2 separate regions of the Homo sapiens genome follow, and region 2 is linked to region 1. Evidence: promoter capture Hi-C in human tissues and cell types (Jung and others, 2019). All regions are on one chromosome and are shown on one strand. Each heading gives the region's core, a stretch centred on a gene start or on the middle of the fragment in contact. The rest is flanking DNA. Distances are from core to core; before and after follow the strand shown.

What was found. The method cuts DNA at HindIII sites, captures the fragments that hold promoters and counts their contacts. A contact is called where the count stands out against the background at its distance.
Region 2: a contact is called between the fragment with the promoter of MFSD2A here and a fragment that was not itself captured in region 1, in 1 of the 25 tissues and cell types used here (dorsolateral prefrontal cortex).

What each region holds. Positions count from the first base shown.
Region 1 is chr1:39,738,096-39,741,890 of GRCh38, forward strand. It overlaps PPIE (peptidylprolyl isomerase E), which reads left to right and starts at 787. Exons shown (of 10, transcript NM_006112.4): 1 at 787-836; 2 at 2,070-2,168; 3 at 3,271-3,314. The coding sequence starts at 806. RefSeq lists an enhancer at 835-1,044. The HindIII fragment of the contact is 4,843 bases long and covers 1-3,795 here.
Region 2 is chr1:39,953,367-39,957,161 of GRCh38, forward strand. MFSD2A (MFSD2 lysolipid transporter A, lysophospholipid) reads left to right here and starts at 1,779. Exons shown (of 14, transcript NM_032793.5): 1 at 1,779-2,019; 2 at 3,721-3,795. The coding sequence starts at 1,927. RefSeq lists a silencer at 1,601-1,730. The HindIII fragment of the contact is 9,041 bases long and covers 1-3,795 here.

The DNA.
Region 1 (3,795 bases), core at 427-2,926:
AGCTCTTCTGCCCTTGTAGTAGGAAAGCAGCCACAGTCATACTTAAAGGAATGAGCGTGGCTGTGTCCCCATAAAGCTTTCTTTACGGACACTGAAATTTTAATTTCACATAATTTTCATGTGCTAAGAAAATATACATATATATTTTGTGAGATGGTGTGTCGCTCTCGTCACCCTGGCTGGAGTGCAACGGCGCGATCTCTGCTCACTGCAACCTCCGCTACCTGGGTTCAAGCGATTCTCCAGCCTCAGCCTCCTGAGTAGCTGCGATTACAGGCGCCCGCTACCACGCCTGGCTAATTTTTGCATTTTTAGTAGAGACGGGGTTTCACCATGTTGGCCAGGCTGCTCTCGAACTCCTGACCTCAGGTGATCCGCCCGCCTCAGCCTCCCAAAGTGCTGGGGCTACAGGCATGAGCCACCACGCCCGGCCAAGAAAATATAGTTTTTTTATTTTTTCCAACTATTTCAAAAGGTAAAATTCATTCTTAGCTCCCAGGTTGTCCAAAAACAGACGCGCAGGATGGCCAAGCACCAGAGTTTATCGTTTGCCCATAATAATCGGGTTGATTCGGCCAAGGTTTCCCTCCCCCAACACGGTGCGCACTGGGAAGCGCGAGGACCACGTCCCTTGGTTTACCACTGCGCACCTCACAAGGCGCCCAGTGCATCCGGGTAGCGGGATGCCGGTTGGACCAACGCGAGGGTGGGCGGGGTCTAAGAGCTAAGCGTTGGGGGCGGGGCGGGACAGTGGGGAAGAGGACGGGTCGAGTGCTGGCTTCCGGCGGAAAAGCGCGCGAGCAAGATGGCCACCACCAAGCGCGTCTTGTACGTGGGTGAGCAGGAGGGGTTGCTAGGCGGAGTCTGAGTGAACGCGACCCCCAAGGGTCGGGGCGTGGGGTGGGACGCATCTCTGAACCAGGAGGACGGCGAGCTGCTGTCAAGGCCGGGTCTCTGGCGGTAGTGCTGGCGATAGCTCTGGCTGTGCTTAAACTCCTTCCAAGGTTTCCCACTGTCCTCAGGAAAAAGTGCAGACTTCTTAGCAGTACGCACTTCTCCAGCTTCTTTGCTTTGCTTCCCGATTCGCTGGGTCTCCCGAAAAATGACCCACTTGCCCCCAAGGTTCAGGTTATTTCACACCTTTGGGCCTCTGCTTTTGCGACTCCCTTGCAGTGAACAGCCTTGCCACACACCTCAGGTGCGTGAACCCGAGACGGAATGATTATTCTGACTTCCTAGCCCGCTGAGCTCCAGCGGGCCCCGAGGAGCGGTAAAGGAGTATTATGGCCCTTCGGATCCTCTCGTTCATTTGTTTTACAAACATTCAGTGCAGCGACGGCTCAGCCCCAGCCCCTGCCATAAAGGAAGGAGTTCCCAGACTAGCCAGAAAAAAAGTGGAATTACCTCAGTAGCACACTTTTGATAAGCGCTGTAGTGAGGATGGATCATGATAATATGGGCCTGGCTGCGGGACAAATGACCCATCCATCTGGAGAAGCGAGGGCAAATTCTGGATGCGGCGATGCCAGAGCTGATGAGCAGGAGTTAGCTACGTAACCGAAGCAGAGGCAAGGCCGTTCACTGCAAGGGAGTCGCAAAGGTGTGAAATAGCCTGACACTTGGGGGCAAGTGGGTCATTATTCGGGAGACCCAGGAAATTAGGAAGCAAAGCAAAAAAGCTGGAGAGGTGGGTACTGCTAAGGAGTTTGCACTTTATCCTGAGGACAGTGGGAAGCCTTTGAAGGAGTGTAAGCGAAAAGTTACGGGTTCAAATTTGCATTTTCCTAAGATCATTCTAGTTGGCTTTGTGGAGTTGATGGAATGGAGGCAGGGAGGTCAGTTGTGAAGCTATTGCAGTAATCCCAGGACTAGATGAGAGTCTGAAAGAAGGGCGAAGAGAGGAATATTTTTCATAAGTATGGGTGGGCAGAGATGAGAGGGGGATGTTTGTTTACCCAAAGAACTGAATGGAAGGGTCCTGTCCCCTGGCTAGCATGCTAACTGGGCTGCAAGGACTTCTGCAAGAGTATGGAGATCAGTGGCTCAGAAGGCCCTTGGCTTATTTGCAGGTGGACTGGCAGAGGAAGTGGACGACAAAGTTCTTCATGCTGCGTTCATTCCTTTTGGAGACATCACAGATATTCAGATTCCTCTGGATTATGAAACAGGTGAGTTAGTGTCTCTCACGTTCAGAATCCTCTTACTAGGAAAATACCTTAAAAAATTAAAGTCACATCACAATTCTAAATATGCATTCTAAATATGGTTAGTATACACTACAGGTAAGTTCAGGAAGGTGTCTGGTGACAGTGATCTCGATGGAGAAGGAATGTTCTGAGGCCATGTGGTTGTGAACTCTGAATACTTTCCAGAGTCTTCAGCTGTTGGGTTGAGATAAGACAGATTTTTCAATAGACCAGTAGGGAGATAGGTTTGAACTACATTGAGATTTGAATGTTGTTTTAATCTACCTGATGGGTACCCCATCCCACCTGCACCTTCTTGCAGCTGTGCTATTAAATGAGGCAGCGGGAAAGCCTAGCCCCATAATGGGGGTGGGTGAGGGCGGGGGTTCTTGGCCTCTGCACCCCTGGGTGGGTTTCCCATCGATTGGTATCACAACCACAGTTCAGTTTTCTGTTTACCTTTGTTGTCATTTTTAAGATTATAGTTTTAGGCCTAGTTTTATCATCAACCTTGCATATGATTGTTAGCAAAGTCTTTAAACTCTCTGGGCCTGGGAAATCTTTATTTGCAAAATGATAAGGTTATGTTGGCTTTCTAAGGGCCTTCTAGTCTCTGAGTTCTATGATAAACATTATTGTGCTTGGTCTTTCTAGTTAGTTCAGCATTTTCCTGAAGATAAAGACTGAGCATCTTTATCAGGTTTTAGGATTCATGCTTTATGCACAGTTGATGCGCAAAATATATATTTAGATAGATAATTGATAGGTCAAATGACTTTATTTTTCTAATTGCTTTGCATGCAATGGTTAAGGTTTTAAGTTTGGCTTTCGTAGAATAATTGAATACTTATCAATTAAAAATACAGTTTACTATTCAGCTATGTCCATTAAAAAAACAAAGTTTATTATTGCTTAAAATATTGTATAAGAAGAATCAAGAATGAGATTCCTTCTTCCTAAATAGTGATTGGATAGAACTTCTGGTGTTTGGATACGACATGTAACTGACTTCACTTTGTGACCATCCTGTTTCTTCCCACTACCCCACATAGTAATTACTTGTTTTTGTTTTTCCATTTTGTAGAAAAGCACCGAGGATTTGCTTTTGTTGAATTTGAGTTGGCAGAGGTGAGAGTCTGTGTTACTAGTGTCTAGTCCTTGGTTTGTGATGTTGTTACTGATTACAAAGGAAGCTTTTCACCATTTGGTTAGGTTTTTGGGCCTTAGGCTGATGCTTCCAGAGAGATCAGAAGTAAGTGCTGTTCTAAGGAAAGCGTCTCTCACATAATCAGACTGGACTGTGAATAACATGTCAGACCTGCCAGGCCCTCCCATTCTTGCCCTGCAGAGGAGCTAGCTCATGCACCCCTGTTCATTGAGCATTCTTGCCTGGAAGTAGTGATTATTTCTTGTGCCTTCAACTAGATGGCAAATTGTTGCACCACCAGCTCTAAAATCAGCCAGGAAGTGCTCTTTGTTAGAAACACACAAAACCTAGGCAAGAAATACAGAGGTGGCATTTTTCTGGATTTTTGCTACTGAGCATGTGTTTAGACACCATAAGAAGCATTTGGCTGCAAGCCTAAACTTGTACCTTTGTCTTTCCTTG
Region 2 (3,795 bases), core at 529-3,028, 220 kb after region 1:
AGCCTCCCAAAGTGCTGGGATTACAGGCGTGAGCCAGGGTGCCTGGCCAGTAGCTACTATTAATATCACCATTTTACACAGGGAGGTTAACTGAGTTGTTCAGAGTCAGCCGCACAGCTAGTAAATGGAGACACTTAGGGCTTTTCCTAATGGGTTTCTGTGTGCTTGTACCTTAGCAGGGGAAGACTGAACATTCATTCACTGAACACAATAATTCAGGCCCTAAGCTAGTTGGTGGGGACACAGAAGTGAAAAAGATGCGGTTCCTACCTGAGGAGCTCATTGTCAACCGGGGGATACAGATCACTTGTGGTATGGTGTGACTGTGGGAGAGAAGATTTGGGGGCTGCAAGGGAGCTTAGCTAACCAAGCCTGGAGAGGGGAAAAGAGACAGAACAGTGTCACACAGCTTGGAGTAATGGGGCCAGCCATTCCCTTTCCACAGTATTCAGTGCCTCACTTTGGCTCTCTTCTGCTCAGCAATGGCCAAGAGCTGTGTGCCCAGATGGGATCTGCTGGCGTATGAGGGAGCATGGTGTGACCATCCTGGGGCAGATAGACCTTATCTCTCCTCCCTGCAATCAGAGATTTAAAGAAAGGAAGAAGGAGGCTGACATTAAGGAGCACAGGAACCGGGTGGGTAGCCTTTGAGAGTTCCAGCAGCCCCTTCACTAATCAGAGAACTGGAAAGACCGGGGTGACATTGACATAAGGGACTCAGAGGTGGAACTAAAGACTGTTCTTTTCTGGCATCCGTGCCTGCCTTCTGTTCCAAACTAATGCCCTCCCATCTTCTTTTGAGGACCACATTTCTGGGCATTCTCTTTTTCAAAACTTTCCCTGTTTCAACCCTCAGTGCCTCTGGAGCCATGTATCTCCCAGGGCTTCTTGTTGGGAGACACATACACCCCATTCTGCCGTCTGTAATTTATGCTAAGAGGGATAGAGCAGGGCTGTTGAGAGCAACTGCTTTGGTATCGGACAAAACCTTTCAGGCCTGGCTCTGCTACATAACAGTTGCTTCACTTCTCCAAGTTTCCCCTTCCTGTGCTGTAAAATGGGGATAATAATAGTACCACCCTCACTTGGTGGTTTTTGAGGGCCGAAAGAGATCATATTAAGCATGGAGGAAGCTATCCATAAAAAGGCCACTGTTGTCATAGTGTACTAGCGGGCGTAGCCCCGGCTTCTCTCCACGACTTGGGAGCTCCCTTCTGGCAGGGGCAGCCACTGGATTGCCTCATCTTTCTCCCCATTGCCCGGATGCCAAGGGCAGGACGGGGGAATGGTGTGTCTTCGGGGATGAGAGAGAGGCATCAGGAGGGAAAGTGTCAGCGTACGTCCTCTAGGCTTGAAGAAGGAGAGAGGCCCTGACTCCAGATTTTAAAGTGGGCTTCAGAGCCCCTACCTTTCCTAGGCCTGGGGCTCAGAAGTCATGGGTGGTAGGCCCGACTCGGGGAGAGTCGGACCTTGGGGACCTCGGGGACCTCGGGCAGATCGGGGACCCCGGGCAGATCACTTTCAGCCTGGGGCCTCGGTTTCCTCGCGCGTGTCTGGGAGGTCTCGCGGCCTGCTTCTCGGATTGCTAGGAGCCAGCGCAGGCAGATGCCGGTTCCGGGGCTTGGAGAACGTGGCTCGGTGGCACAGAGCCGCCGGGCGAGGCGGGGGCAGGGAGGCGGGCGACGGGATTGGCTGGAGGCGGGGCAGCGGGGCTCGGGGATTGGCCGCAACCGAGAGGGCTGGGCAGAACTATAAGAGGCGCGGAGGGGGCGTGCAGCAGAGTGCGTTCCTCGTCTGCCAGCCGGCTTGGCTAGCGCGCGGCGGCCGTGGCTAAGGCTGCTACGAAGCGAGCTTGGGAGGAGCAGCGGCCTGCGGGGCAGAGGAGCATCCCGTCTACCAGGTCCCAAGCGGCGTGGCCCGCGGGTCATGGCCAAAGGAGAAGGCGCCGAGAGCGGCTCCGCGGCGGGGCTGCTACCCACCAGCATCCTCCAAAGCACTGAACGCCCGGCCCAGGTGAAGGTGAGGGCCCGGCACCCCGCGTGGAGGGCGAGGGGAGGGAGGAGGCGGAAATGGGGGATCAGGGGCGTCCCGGGGTCGGCCTGGTCAGGGGACCATTGGGATAGCCAGGGACAGGAAGCCTACGAGCCAGAGAGGACCTGGGGGTGCCCTGGGACAGGGGGTGACGGAGAAAAGCTGTGGGCGCCCTCGCCCCCCTTTGCTCACCCGCACTCCACGCTCTGCGGAGAGGCTCTGCCGGCAGCCCCATGTGATTCCCCGCTCTGCCTAGCCGGTTTCCATTCTTCCGTGTTGAGCGGCTGGGGCTTGCCGCCCCAAACCCCAGAGATGACCCCAGAAATCTGGGAAACTCCCCTTGGTTCCCCATCTCTCATCCCCTACCTCCCACTCCACCCACCTACTCTTGCGCCTCAACTCTGCTGTTAGGGCCGCTCAAGTTCATTCATAAGAACAAGAGCTCTGCTCTTAAAGGAGCCGCGTCCCTCAGGCATTTGTCTGAATGTGGATGTTCGCGCGGGAACGGTGCTTTGCGCATCGAGACCATCGACCACATCCCCAGCCCTGGGGACTTATTGAAGGACCAAATAAAATGAGGCGGCCCCCTAGGAAAGGATCTCAGGCAATAGATACCTTCGTGGGAGGTGACTGCCTTTTCCTTTTAATTTTATTAACTGATCTTTGGAAGGAGCTGGGTGAGCAATTATGCTGTTACTATGTATGAGTAATATCTACTTTCCCTGGGCAACCCAACCTCCCTAGTGCCCCACCCGGAGAGGGATCAGGCCTGAACCTGGAGGCCTTTCCTCCCGTCTCCAAGGTCCTCTAGGAGCTCAGGGGTGGAGGGCGATGGGTCGGGAAGCTGGAGAGTAGGACAGTTCCTGGGTCCGCCTGAAGCTCTGGCTGCCTATAGTGGTCAGGGATGCTCTGGGATAGGTGGAACAGCTGCGCCTGCAGCCAGCTGGGCCGGGCCCCCGTAGCTCTCTAGAGCTCTCACCAGGAGTAGGCAGGTGGATCCTGTCTCTGAGGCAGGGTGGGAGCCTGGGCTGGGCTCAGGCAGCTCTTGGCAGCAAGCGGATTTTCAGGTTGTGGCAGCTGGTGCCGGGTGGGGACAGGTCGGCTGCTGGAGCATGCTCCCCCTGAAACCTGGAAAGGAGCAGTGCCTGAGGCCTTGGGAGGAGTTCTTTAGGGATGGTGGGCTGATAAGTTTCCTTAGAATCTCCAGGAGGGAGGTGGCTTAGGGGCTACTTTCACACAAGTATGGATTCCCCTTTTCCATGTTCCTAAGAATGGAGAACACCTTTCTTTTGTATAAAGTGGGATCTCGGAGATCGAGACCATGCTGGCTAACATGGTGAAACCCCGTCTCTACTTAAAATACAAAAAATTAGCTGGGTGTGGTAGTGGGTGCCTGTAGTCCCAGCTACTTGGGAGGCTGAGGCAGGAGAATGGCGTGAACCCAGGAGGCGGAGCTTGCAGTGAGCCGAGATGGCACCACTGCACTCCAGCCTGGGCAACAGAGCAAGACTCTGTCTCAAAAAAAAAAAAAAAAAAAAAAAAAAAAAAGGTGGGATCTCCTGGATAGGAACAGGTCAAAGCAGAGTTGTTTGTTCTGGTAGAGCTGGCCAGAGGGATGGTCCTTCCTGTGGAACCTTCTTGGATGGAGGCCAGAACCTTGGGCCTTTCATCTTTTCCTCCTCTTCCCAGAAAGAACCGAAAAAGAAGAAACAACAGTTGTCTGTTTGCAACAAGCTTTGCTATGCACTTGGGGGAGCCCCCTAC